2 separate regions of the Homo sapiens genome follow, and region 1 is linked to region 2. The links are contacts of gene promoters, found by promoter capture Hi-C in blood cells and fetal thymus (Javierre and others, 2016). All regions are on one chromosome and are shown on one strand. Each heading gives the region's core, a stretch centred on a gene start or on the middle of the fragment in contact. The rest is flanking DNA. Distances are from core to core; before and after follow the strand shown. Region 1 holds the start of VPS50 (VPS50 subunit of EARP/GARPII complex). Region 2 holds the start of TP53TG1 (TP53 target 1).

Region 1 (7,351 bases), core at 3,035-5,534, 5.9 Mb after region 2:
TCCAATTGCCGTTATCAAATTAGCTGTTTTCAGTGTTTTTCAATCTAGTGCTGGATTATAATGAAGTTTGTTGGGTCCCTGGCAAAAAGAGAAATAAAGACAATGTACTGTGTTTTTCCCTAGTGTTAAATATACTCAATATAAAGGAGTTTTTTATTCTGAGATTTTCTTTGTTGTATTTGAAAATATTCCCTGTTTCATGACATAAGGTGATAGTAGATGCTACATTAAAAAATAAATGCCATATGAATCTTACTTGTAATCTTTTTATTTCATGGCACATATTGAAATATAATACGGCACATCTAGGGAAAGGGCTACTGGGATAATCATGACAAAGCGCCCTCTAGTGGTAAACTGTAGATATAAACTCTTACCTGCTGGAGTAACTTCTGATTTCAACATGTTTACACAGGAAGTGAGAAAAAGAGTGCTCAAGCTTAACTTCAACAATTGTTAATTTTTACATGATTCTTAAAAATAGTTTGAAGGTTTTATAATTATAAGAATTTTCCTACCATCCATATCTCACATCACACCTGTAACCCACTGGGAAGTTCTGCTGTTATCATTCCAGTCAGGAAAAAAGGGCCTGTAGTGTTACTGTTTACCAATCTTAGTTATATTTGCATTTAAAATGAGAAGGCTGATTAACCTAAAACAATCTATATCCACGGTGATTAAACTGCAAGCAATGTAAGGAGCCACTGGGATAGAGTATGCGTGTGTGTGTCCACGTGCATTTACAATGGGATATGGACACATATACTCCTGTGCAGGAGGGTGTGTGTGTGTGTGTGTGTGTGTATGTGTGTGTATGTTTGTTGGGGGCAGGGATTTTTATTACCTCTCAAATCACACTACACAGTTTACAATCTAGTTTATTTAAATTGCAGACTGGTATTACTTCATACAGTAAATGTCTGCTGCATGCATTTCAAACATCCACATTTTTAATCACAAGTAGCTAGCACACGCATGTTTTGCAGTGGCAGAAACAATTAAGGAGAGGTGGTGAAATGCCAAGGTCAATGTAGATGCAGAACAGTGGGGAATAAGAACTGGGGAAAGAAATGTTTCTTATTGTTGTAATTAGTGGATTCTCTCCAGTTTACAGGGAGAGTTAGCTGCCAGAGGAGGCTATCACATATGCCTATGCCTGTGCTAGTGTTCACTTCTGTAAAGTCTACAAAGCTGCCTCGTGGAAGCCTTGATCTATCTTATATGGCTGCTAAATACTAAGCAGTAATGTCTTCTTCCTGGGCACCTCTTTAGGTCACTACTTTACCTTTGGCAAGTGTTCTGTTTTCTGTTATGGCCTGCTCAAGAAGTGTAGTCATATCATCTTGGAGGGGCTGCATCTCTCCACTGCTTTGGTATTTGTGGAGTGGTAAGAAATTTTATCTTTCTAATCAAACCAGGATCTCAGCTTTTATTTAAGCTTCCAGACATTCCTCCTGTTTTGGGCCATTAGTAATATGCCCTTATCCTACTTTACTACTAATCCTATTGTTCTGAATCAGATCAATTTACTTAACTCTTGGCTCTGCACTCCTTTACCAAGGAATTGGTATCCAGCCAACCTTCCCCAGGATTTGGTGGCAGACCATCTAAACTTTCCATTATTTTGCACTGGACTATCACTAACAACAGCTCTCAGGTAAATGTGAAAGTCCTGAATAAATCTTAAAAATAAATACCTTTTTGAAAATTGGAAAGGAAATAGCAGCATGTCCAACCTTTTAAAAAGTGTTTGTTAGGATGCCAAGTTTTTTGTTTTTTTGAGCGTAGACAGATAGAAATGAATAACGTAAGGTTCAATTATTTCATATAGTGTTAAGGTATGCTGAATTAGAAAATATAGTTTATTTAGACACCAGCGCTGATTTACTTTACAAGCTTTCAATATTATAGTTATAGCCTTAAAACATTTAGAAGACTGTATCCATTTTTATCCATTTCTCCAGTTTGTAGGAAATAAACTAAAATGTAGAGTTTTGGAGTAAAACAAAGTTTCAATACTTTCTTGCGTTTTCAGTGTCGAATAGATAGGGATAACACTCATTTTTCTGAATTTGGCCAATAGAAATACACATATTAGATAAAAAAAACTTTTTGGGGGGATCATCTTTAACTTTGTGTATTTGAGTATGTGAGGGAGAAAATTCCGGGGTTGAATCTGGGTTCTAGTCCTAGATCAAGCTCTCATGAAATATGTGGTCTCGAACCCTTATACAGATACGTTTTCTCATCTTTACAGCATGGATTTGACATGCTAGAGCTGGACTGCCTTTAAGAATCACTGAAGATTTTAAACAAACAAACATCCCCAAAGAAAACAACAATAATAACAGCACACACCTCAGGTGAATCTGAACAGTCAGGTTTGAGATCTACTGAACTCAGATCACCCCTAAGATATGCTTTTAAACCCAGTTGTGAACTCCTTGTGACCACAACCATAGATTATTAATCAAAGTGCTTATTTTAGTGTTGCCTTGAGCGCAACAATCAAGAAATGTTTATTGACTTGGGTTTTATTTTATAGGCTAATATGGCTGGCAGTTTTTGTTTCTTTTGATGCTTTCAGGGACTTCTAAATATTGCAGATTTTCACACACAAAGAACAGTCTGACAATTAAGATTAGAGAAGGTAAAGAATAAACTAAACTAGACTTGCCCTAAATGTGACCAGAATTTCTTGAAGGGGTTAGAAATAACAGAGTCAGAGAAGCATATAGGTAAACATATAATTTCAAAGGAATTGCTGAACGCAGTGATGATACAAGTATGCACAAGGTGGTTCTGTTGGAGTAGAGAACTGGGCAGAATCAAAACCAATAATACCTCATAATTGTATAGTGCTTTACAATTTATACATTTCATTCACCTACATCATCTCACTTATCCTTACAAAGCCCTATATAAAATATTAAAATATTACAACCTCATTTGTAAAAATTAATAAAACGAGGCTCTAAGGGGTGAGAAAATAGAATTTCAGAATCAGAAATAACCTCTGTTAGTGTCCCCCAAACTTCAGTCATTTGCAAATCACCTTTATTAGTTTTGCCATATCTGACTACCACCCATACTATTGTTTACCTAGTATTTTTTATTACGTTGACACACTTGAACTTTTTTTATTCTAAGAAATATTTTTGAAATTATGGGTCTGTGTCATACTTTTAGAAGTTAACATTATAATAAAATAAACTTAAAAAAATTGGTGCCATGCTTTAGAACTTTCTTCAGCACAATACATGAAAATCTTAACACATCTGATGACCGATTAATCCTTCAGTTTCTACTTGCACATCTGCAGTAATCTTAGGCAAGTTCCTTAATTTCGCCATACCTGCTTCGTCATCTTTAAAATGGGAACCCACAGGATTCTTGTGTGGATAAATGAAATCATATATTTAAAGCTATTAGCAGTTCCTGACAGGTACTCGGCTTTCGATAAGTGTTAGCTATCATTGTTAGCTTTAGGGCTGCTTTTTCTTCTTCTTCTCATATTCTCATAATTGTAAAGTCCTTTTAAAATTGTGTCCCCAAAGACACTTCTGTTCCTTTCCCCAATTTAACTAAACTGCCAAAAGTTGAAAAGAGGACTTTAAAGTGACAGGTATACTCGTTATTGTCGTATTTCCCGTCATCACTGCTTTAGAGTACGGAGGTAAAATAATAGGCGGGCGTCAAAATCCTTCGATTTTAGAGCTTTTGCAGGGGATACCAAGACTGAGGTAGAACAGCCCTAAACCTGGAGGGCCGCCTATTGGGCAACCTAGAGCACACCTTTCCTCAGGCCAAACCCAGCGCGCCCGGGGTAGTCTCGAGTTCTCAGGTTACCCCTCAGTGACAGCCCTTTCTTGAGTTCCTTCTCCTTCGCGTCAGTCTCTCGTTCTCCCACCCCGCCCCTCTAGACCAGGTGAGGTTTCCTCCCTCACACTCCTAGGGGACATCGCGTCAATCTGGCTTATATATTGTCTCCTCTGAGTTTGATCTTTCGCTCAACGCCTAGTCACCTGTGACTTAGGTTTCCGTCTCGCCGAAGAGTAGCTACTGCCTAGTGCAAGCACCTTTGTAAGACCGGCGATCGCAGTGGTCGCTCTGAGCAGTAATATTTACCGGCTTAACTGAAGCACCCGCTCTTTTGCTTGCTGGGAGATGTAGTCCCTGGGTTGGCCACTTTAGTTCATCGTTGCTACCGCCGGCGTCCAGAAGACTACAGTTCCCAGCAGGCCCAGGGAAAGACAGGATACCCTGGGTCGGCTCCTCCACGTGACCACCCACTATGGCTTCCTAGTGTCAGGGCCAGCTGTGTAGTGGCTCGGTGTGATTTGTTAGCTCTTTGAGGCAGGGTACCCTCCTCAGGATTTCGATATGCAAAAAATCAAATCTCTCATGACCCGACAGGTAAGTCGCGGCGGCTGAAGCAAAGGCTTCCTTCATCTCGGAAGTGAGAGGAGCCGAGATGTTCTGTCCCCAACCAGTGGCGGGCGGGGATCTAAGTTATGGGTGGTGGCAGGTGTCAGGGGGACTGGGAAGCCGGGGCATACCCTAGAAAACTCACCTGGGCCGCCTGGGTTGGAGCACTGCTCCAGCGGGTACCAGCCTCCCAGAAATATTCGTTTAAAAATAAGTCATTGAAGGAATCAGGGTATCTTTGTCTCCCCTCCTCCTCTTTTTGCCGTCTTTCCAGAACAGCCCGAGCTTCCTTGCAAGGTCTTCCGCATCCAGGCTGTCTGTCATATGCGAGCTGATAGCCTGGGTAGGGTGGTGTGGTCTGTGCAGTAGAGGTGACCTGGAAAGACTGAAAACGGATGATTTGAAGACAGAATTAGTAGCTTTTGGATTTTGGGCAAGTCCCCAAACTTTGTAGCTTACGTTTCTGGATGTGAAAATAATTATTTTTGTTCATTTTACTTCACAGTTCTGTTATGAGGGTCATCGATAAGCTAATATATGTGAAAACTCTTTGTGAAATTCTGCTTTAAAAAATTTATTTTTGTCATGGCAAAATACTGATCTTTTCTTTTTTTTCCCCAGAATGGAAATTCATGAATAAGAGCTTTGGCTATTTTGTAACCTGTCTCATAAATGTTAGGGACCTCGTAATAATGCCTCAGCTTCATTTAAGAAGTGCAGAAATTTTCTTTTATGTACTTATTGATTATGACTTTGTTTTAGCTGCCTTTATTTACTTCAGCTTTAATATTTCACTAGAATTGGTCATTTTATTATTTTAATATGAAAGATAGTTAAGATTAGAGTTTTAAATCAACATGGCTTTTAGAAGTTTGGAGAATGTGGAAGGTAATCGTTTAGTGAAAGGTATATTTGTGAGTTTTTTTCTTGTTGATTACAAAAATAACTCAAATTCCACATTCTTATTTGAGAATTCACAATTTGAGAGATATATAAACAGGATACAAATTGTGTATTTCTCTTGCACAATGCACAAATGACCCTTACATGATTATTTTAGTTATGTCAGAGCATTTTGTTAATGTTATGAAAATATAATCAAAATGTTCTGTGAATAATAAAAATATTTAAGTAAGTGGCTAGTAACATTTGTTAATTCCTCACATGTGTTGAGTACTGGTGTTGTGCGTCCTACTACTTCTTACTTGACGATGAGTTTGGGTCCTGCTGTATCCTGTGGCAGCTGTGTGACTTTCGGCAAGTTACATAACGTTTTTAAGCATCTATTTCCACATCTTTAAAATAGGAATAATGTGTGCCTTATGGAGTTAGCCTGATAGTGGTGTTTACATGATATAATGAAGTTAAAGAGTTTAAGGCGTTAACGGAGTTCCTGGGCATTATCAAGGAAGTGCTTGAACGCAGAGACCGTTAGTTACATTGGCTATGTTGATGGTGGGAAAGCAGGAAAATTGGAAGCAGGCTGTTGCAGTAATTCAAGCAATAGATAAGTTCATGCTGACTTCGGTACCTGTTTGATTTTTAAATCAATATATACTTTTGTACTTTATATCACTAATACCTCTAAACTGCCTTTGGAATGCTGAATTTGGACTTTTGTGCATCAGCTGTTTGATGCTGTCTCAAGTTTGTTGCCTGCCATACAGTTCAGTGTAGTTAACGTTGTCATAATTGTATGGTAGCTGTGGTTGGTTTAGTTTTTTTGACCTCATTTTGTAAAACTGAGGAGAGAAAAAAATTTCAGATAGCAGTGATAAGTGTATGTCTCCTAAATGTAATGCAATTGTGCTGAAAATGGTAACACTTAAGCCTTAGTCAGTTGCTTATTGAATTTCAGCAGGTCAAACCTGTGTTTAATTGAAATGGAAAAAAATACATTAAAGAACACATACAAAAAGCTGGAACCATACTGTGTACAAAGTGAGGTAAAATTAGGAGTTTTGCATACATATTTAAAGTTATCCTAATTATATATGTTATGGCTTGACTTTCACATATTTGATACTGATGCACAGTTCCTGAATCTATGAGGTATGAAATTAGTGTGCCTGCTATTTACATTGAGGGTTTGAATTAGTACAGTTTATTATTGGGTTAAATTTAATAGGATTACAAGTAAGTATACATGAAAGTATTTCTTTTTTTGAACCTATAGAATGTGCTAATAATATATATTGAGTTAATATGGAGAGATAGGAAATTAAGGTCTGTGAAATTTAAGCTTTGGGACATTTCAGCTGTCCTGGGATCTTTGTTTGCAAAATAATGGGAGGAAGGAAGGCTTTGTTAGCTCTCTTTATTTAGATGAGATCTGTTCTTCATCTTTCTCCATCATGCTCACCTCTGTTCTTTCAGTCCATTCAACAAATGTTTATTGAGCAATTTGTGCCAGGTACTATTCTAAGTAAAAAAAAAAAAATAGACAAGTGTTAAGGCAGACACGGTGATAAACACTGTAGAGGAAAAGAGGATAGAAAGTCCTGGGAATTGTTGGTGATTTGAGGTCACTTATAATTTTAGATAGGATGGCCACGGAAGGCCTCACAGAGAAGGTAATATAAAAAAACCTGAAGGGGGTGAGGAAGTGAACTCTGTGAGGTAGATATTTGGGAAGGAGCATTTCCAGTGGAAGGAAAGGCAAATGCAGAGGTCCTGAGGCAGGAGCTTGTTTGAGAAATTGCAAGTGGCCTGTGTGGGTGAAGTGAGTGAGGAGAAGAGTAGTGGGAGATGAGGTTAGGATGAGGTTAGATGACTGAAGGCAGGAAGCTAGATCATGTAGTACCTTATAGGTAATAGCAAGGTCATGGCTTTCATTCTGAGTGAAATGGCAAATAGAGGAATGATATAATTGGACATAACACTTCAGACAGACCATTTGGACCCATGTTTTAAGAACAGA
Region 2 (6,607 bases), core at 717-3,216:
CATATCTCCTTACTTATTAGAGTCACAAATCTTAGCAGGAAGCCAGTTATGCAGATTGAAACATGAACTTCTTAGTCTAGCATTTTAATACTTTTTAATGGTGAAATTTATCTAGACTTATCTATAAAGTCTTTTGCAATTTGTGGTATGCTGAGTAAGAACTACAGAAGAACAAAAATAAAAGATTTTTTTAATGGCAACTTAAAAAATTATCACCACTTGTACTACTTACAAATTTTCCTCCAAAAAGTTACTTTGACTCATAGTCAATTTTTAATCTTGGAACAACTTCTTGCTATCACAAATACTTCAAGTGCCTAAAACATCTTCCTTACCAGCCAATATCTCCCGCTCCACTCTAAGAAATGCAAACTCGTTCAAGTTTAACCTGAATGCAACATAATTTGGAATCTTTCATTAAAATATATATCACACATTTTGAAGCCAAACATATTTTAAAATACCTGTTTTTGGTGATTTGGGGTACATATGCTTATCAGTATAACATATTTTAAAAGATTTTTTTCTACATACTCAAATCTGTGTTCCATTCATTTTTTCACTCCCACACCTTTTTGTCTATCCGATAATTCAGGAATCTTTACAGAAACATCTTGTTTCCATTGAAATAAACAACAAGAGTAGGAAAAAGAGTGAAGCGAAATGGTTCTAAATTCTATGCACCAACAGGCATTAAACATGCATAAACTTTTAAAGAGATGCCAAGACTCACTAAAAAGGAGAAAAAAAATACAACGAAGGTTTCTGAGTAGTTTTTAGTTACTCAATTTAAAAACTTTATCTTGTAAGCAAACTTTAACATCATCCAGAGCATCGCACTTATATATGAAAGAAAAAGTTCTTTATCACACCTTCAGAAATTACAACTACAAATTCCTAATCCCTTATTTAAAATCTTTTTGGCTAGATATGTTTCAAAATTCAGAACTTTTCTTAGAATAGTACGTCTGCCATATATTATGAAACACTTCCAGCAAGCTGTACTGTAATCAAACACAATATTTCTGTAGAAAACTTATGAATATTTACACAAAGGGAACATTCAGTTACACATAGCCTCACTTCCCTTCAGGTCAAACTTTACTGCTAAAGGAGTTAGAAACGACAGACAAAGGAATGGGGCCTGTCATGACATGTTAATTTGAAATCTAAATCTTTATCTTTGATAACTAGTTCAGAGTCAGTGTAAACATTTGGTCTTTCCTTCCACAAAAAAATGAAACAGTGTATTTAAAATTAAAAATGAAACAGTATATTTTATTTCAGAAGGTAAAAGCAAAATGAATTAATCTGTGAAACTAAGTCAATCACATTATGATCTTCTAGAACTTGGGTAGCTCCACTCTGGTTAAAGATTCCATTTCTTGGCACAACAGTAAAAGACATCAGATAGGCCCGGGGGTAAGCATCCCTGGGGTATTCAAATAACTTGGGTAGCAATGAAGAGCTGCAGAAGAGCAAGGAGACCCGAGATGATGTAGTGTGCTGCGGCATACCTGAGTTGGGCAAACTCAGCCTCCGAAGATTAAAGGAAAGAGCCCAAGTAGGAATCTGTGTGATCACTGTTCTTTTGCCAAGACACGGGGTGGACAATAAGATTCCTTTACAAAGCACTGGTGTAAGTGTTCGCCTGGTGCTGCAAAAAGCGGCTCACTGGGAATGGGGAGGAGCGTGTGGTAAGCCAGACCTGCGGCGAGAAGTTGGGTGAAAATGGGTCTTAACCATCGCTTCCTGCATCTATCCCAGAGGGTTGGGTACCTTCGTGGGCGGAGCGCGGCCTGCCCAGAGTGCCTTCTAGATCCTGGGTCAGGCGCCAAGCTCCCCAGCATCATGCAGGAAGCTGCAGCCCCGCAGAGTTAGGACAGCTCATTTGGCACCCGGCGAGCCCTTCCCAGGCCCGCAGCCCAGAATAGAGCCGGGGCCCAAGACGCCCACTGGAGACAGGGTCGGGTCCCACTACCGCGCAGGCCCGGCTCGCCCCCGACGTCAGGCACGGGGCGGGACCCTTGCAGCTGTCCGTCCAGTCCCGTTCCCCGGAAAGTGAGGGGCGGGACCCTCGCGGCTTTCTATCCAATCCTGTTCCCCGGCGAATGCGGGGCGGGACCCTAGCGGCCTTCAGTCCAATTCCCGCACCTTTGAGGCCCAAGGGGGAGCGAGCCGGTGCTGCTGCAGGCTGAGGCTGCGGCAGAGGCGGCGAGGCGCGGGCGGTGAGGACGGACAGGTCCGTTGAAGCAGCATTCCCTCCCTCCCCTAATCCTTCAACTCGGGGGCGGGGGAAAGTTAAGTCGTGCAGAACCGCAAAGGTGCCTGGATTTGGTGGGGGAGTAGTGTCATCAAGCATCTCGCCTGCTGGGGTCTCAGGGGTACCCTCAAGGTTGGGCCGCGGGGCTGCTCCGTTGTAGTGCTTAGATTTCTCTCACTTGATGGCCTCTTGAGTGCAGAGTTGCTCTTGGGTTGGTGGGAAGAGCCTCCGAGCTCTCATTGCCCTCTGCTCCTGCTTCTACCCCTTGCCACTCTGCGACGAACCTGTTACCCAGCCACTGAAAACGTATCCTCTACCCTTTGAACCCGTCTAATGGAAGGTGTACTTGTCTGAAACCTACTTAATTGTATGATCATTTACTCCTGCTCTCTAGCAGGTGGACTATTTGCGTGTGTTTGCAGTGATTCACGAAAAGTTTGTCTTGGGAACTCCCAACTCCTAGTTTGTCTGCATTCCACCTTCTTTCACTAGCTTGTTCATTTCTTTTTCCCTCTTAAATATTTGTTAAGCTTGTTTCTTTCTTCCCACAGTCACCGACTTAGTCCAGTTCCCTGTGATCTCAAAACAATTGTTGCAGCAGGCTCCTGGCAGTCTCAAGCAGTTCATCTTCTTGGTGTACTGGTATGTGACAATTCCTTCACGTATTGTTCGTGGTTCTTTTCCACTTTCTGTGAATTCATATCTAATTGCCCCCAGAAAGTCAATTCTAATTAAATCTAGCATAATCATTTTCTTAGTGCTATTGGAACCATCTTATTTAACTTAATCTTTGTGGTTGAGAATTCAAGAAAACTCTTCAAGAAAGAATCCAATAATTTATATTTTTAATGTGTACCGGTTGGTGGGTTAAGCACTATAGTGGGTATGTAACTAATACTCTTGCTTCCAGTTTTCTAGAGTCTATTAAGTGGCACAGAGGTAAACAGAATAGCTTATCTTCTCTGTATGTGTGTACTAGTCTTCTATTGCTGCCTTAACCAATTACACAAATGCAACAATTAAAACAACACAAATGTATTATCTCATAGCTTCTGTAAATGTGAAGTTTGGGTGGGCTTAGCTGAGTACTTGGCTTAGAATTTCACAAAACCGAAACCAAGGTTTCTGTAGATTTGGATTCTTTTCTGGAGGCTCTAGGGGAGAATCCACCTCCAGGCTATTTCAGATTGTTGGTAGAATTCACACTGACATTTCTATATCCTTACTGTTTGTCAGCCTGAGCCTCTTTCAGTTCTTTAAGGCCATCTGCATCTTCAAAGACACCACAAATCCTTCTCAAGCATTAAAGCAGTCTTACTTGTCTGCCACTGGCCAGAGAAAGCTCTTTGCTCTTATGGACTCAAGTGATTAGATTAGTTCCAATTCGATAATATCCCTATTTTAAGGTCAGTTCTGTAGAGAATATCACAATCACAGGAGTAATGATCTCACCATATTCGCAGGTTCTGGGGATTAGCAGGGGTGGAATCTTGGGGGCCATTCATAGTAATTGTGCCTACCACAATATGGTGGTTTCAGGCAGGATTATTTTGTTTTTATAATGTGCTTTCACAGGCATTGAAAACAAATTCTGACTTTATTGAATTGTATGATTAACCACTCTAAGATAAGGAAATTCACTTAAAGTTGGTTGCCCTAGGGGCACATGGCTAGAAAGTGGCAGAGTCTGTACTTGGATCCAGATCTACATTTCCATTAGGTACAAACCCATTTTTATGGATGGTCAAAATGGTGTGCAGCCAAAGTCAATAGATAGAAAGAAGCTAAAGAACTTTGAGTTAATTATTATTTCTCATTTTCAAATTATCTCTTTATATTAGTGGTACAGGCTAAGCTCTTCTCCCTACAATAGAAAGCCCAAAATACAATGGTATGAATAAAATAGAAGTTTTTTTTTTTCCATACATCTAGAGGTAGGAGTCCAGGACTAGTAGGGAGATTCTGCAATCCTGCATATATGACTTCCATAAATGAGGCCATGGTGCTGTTTAGTTCGTCACTACCTAGCAGGTAGTAAAAAGGAGGGAAAGTGCAGGGAGAACACATGCATTCCTTTTTGGGAGCATGACCTGGAAGTGACACACACAAGGTCATCACAAAGCCACACTGAGCTCCAAGAGAGGGTAGGAAAGATAAAACTGGGGGCTGTATGCACAGCTACAACTCAGGATTCTGTTAAAGCAGAGGAAAACAGGTATTAGCTGAAAATAGTCTCTTCTGTGTCCATGTTTTTGATAGTGTTCGATTCTGTAACCTATGAGTGGAATACTTTGTTTAGCGTTGCTATCAGTTTTAAAAAATAGTTTTTGAGAGAATAGGAAGTTCAAATTCAATATTAACGTTCTTTGATTTCTCAGTTGCTATTTTAACATATAATTACATTTAATATATTACATTATTTAATATAATTAATATATGATAATTTACAAAGGCTTTGAGAAACCTCATTTTTTATTTAGCATTTGTATACCTTATTCACATTTTGAGTTAGATTTCTTTGATAGCAATTAATACACGTGTCAATATGTTCAAGATTGCTTTGGAACACTTGAGACCATTCTGTGTAGACCTCATACGACCTGTGCAATTAAAGCAGCTTGTCATATGATTTATGTATTCTATAATAATCTTTAATTCTACAGTTGGACACTTCCACACCTCTTTGTACTTTGTGCTCCAAAGTTTTCTATATCAATGCAATATCAACACATAATCCTTTTCTATACATCAAATACTATCTACCCACTAAGATTTACTGCAGGTTCCCTTACCTTCTATCATGTTGTTTTGTATAGGGGAAAGATTGTAGTCTTAACAGATCTGGGTTTGGGTCCTGTGTTTGACATTAGGTAAGTTACTAAATTTCTGAGTTTTGATATATTCATATGTAAAATTGCAAAGAATGCCACCTTTCAGAGATAACATAAAAGTTAGAGAGCTAACACATGTTTTCTGTAATGCAAACTGGAGTACCTGGCAAATGCTAGGTGTTCAATAAATGGTAACTAATTATACCAGTCCCACTGATCACTCTTTACTTCTAGCACTTTGTGTCTACACATTCTTTTTAAGTTGGTTTTCTCTATCTGACAGATTTATAAATTTCATAAAAGCTGGTACCAAGTCCTAGATATGCTGTGGTCCCTAAATACTGGTTTAGTGAATTGTGAATTGTACCTAGGATACGTAACACTATCTATGAGATTGAAGTTGTGAGGGCTCTCTCTCTTTTCTTTAGGTTTCCTATTGTGATTTTATCATGGAAAATCAATTGGCTAAATCAACTGAAGAACGAACATTTCAGTACCAGGATTCTCTTCCATCACTGCCTGTTCCTTCACTTGAAGAATCATTAAAAAAATACCTTGAATCAGGTATGTTAATAATCTTTTAGTATATATTAATATTATTAGTAACTTAGAAAACTGTGATACTGTTGCTGGAGAAGGGGTCTCGATCCAGACTCTAAGAGAGAGTTAGAGTTCTTGGATCTCTTGCAGGAAGGAATTCAAGGTGAGTTGCAGAGTGCAGTGAGAAGAGACAGTTTATTGAAAGCTTCTCCATTATAGAGTAGGACATCCTCAGAAAGCAAGCAGACTGTCTTTAAGTTTTTCTTACATAGGGGTCTTATCGATGTAAAGACTAAGCTGTGCCTATGTGAGGGTGAGCAGACAGCATGACAAAATTTATTATTCTGTTGATTTAAAGAAAACAATCCTTGACATTTTAGTGCATGAATACATCAAAGAATTATGTTAATCATCTCAAAAACATATATTGTTATGGGTATTGAGACATCTGGACTTTCTACTGTTGTAGGAGTGTGTCATTGTAAGTATCTTTAGGTTGTTTCCTCAACTGTAAATATCTTATGACTGGGTCATGACTGGCAAGGAACGTGCCTTGCTAGTCTCAAGATGGAGCTGAATTTAAAATGGTGTTACTCTGGCTCTCCTGAGCTCCTGCTTCCCCAACATTTCCCCCTCTACTTATGAGAGAACCCTTAACCTTAAGGGGAGATAAAGGGTGAAGGTTGTTCTTTTGTAACTCCTTCCTGGAGGCAGTAGATGTTGATGGTTGGGACAGGGTCTTCTCATAATAGTGTGCAGTGAGCCTCTTCAGGGAGTAAGGGAGCTCCTTGCTTGCATGATATCCCAATTGTTTCTAGAAAGTTAATATACTAGGTTAGTAAATAGAAAGGTGAAACAGCTGCTAAACTATTTTATCTTGCAACCCTATACAATAAACACAACAGAAATAAAAGCACAATAACTAATAACAATGAATATTATAATACCAAGCATACTGAAAAGAAATGCTTTC

The links. The method cuts DNA at HindIII sites, captures the fragments that hold promoters and counts their contacts. A CHiCAGO score of 5 or more calls a contact.
Region 1: the fragment with the promoter of VPS50 here is called in contact with the fragment with the promoter of TP53TG1 in region 2 in 1 of 17 cell types (total CD4 T cells); the score reaches 5.7 in total CD4 T cells.

The regions. Positions count from the first base shown.
Region 1 is chr7:93,228,082-93,235,432 of GRCh38, forward strand. VPS50 (VPS50 subunit of EARP/GARPII complex) reads left to right here and starts at 4,285. Exons shown (of 28, transcript NM_017667.4): 1 at 4,285-4,419. The coding sequence starts at 4,387. It also overlaps a transcript of HEPACAM2 not described here. RefSeq lists enhancers at 3,986-4,055, 4,196-4,365, 4,456-4,505, 4,746-4,805. The HindIII fragment of the contact is 4,774 bases long and covers 1,898-6,671 here.
Region 2 is chr7:87,343,526-87,350,132 of GRCh38, forward strand. It overlaps TP53TG1 (TP53 target 1), which reads right to left and starts at 1,967. Exons shown (of 3, transcript NR_015381.1): 1 at 1,518-1,967. It overlaps CROT (carnitine O-octanoyltransferase), which reads left to right and starts at 2,139. Exons shown (of 18, transcript NM_021151.4): 1 at 2,139-2,242; 2 at 2,815-2,905; 3 at 5,523-5,658. The coding sequence starts at 5,544. RefSeq lists a silencer at 1,955-2,164. The HindIII fragment of the contact is 3,653 bases long and covers 1-2,791 here.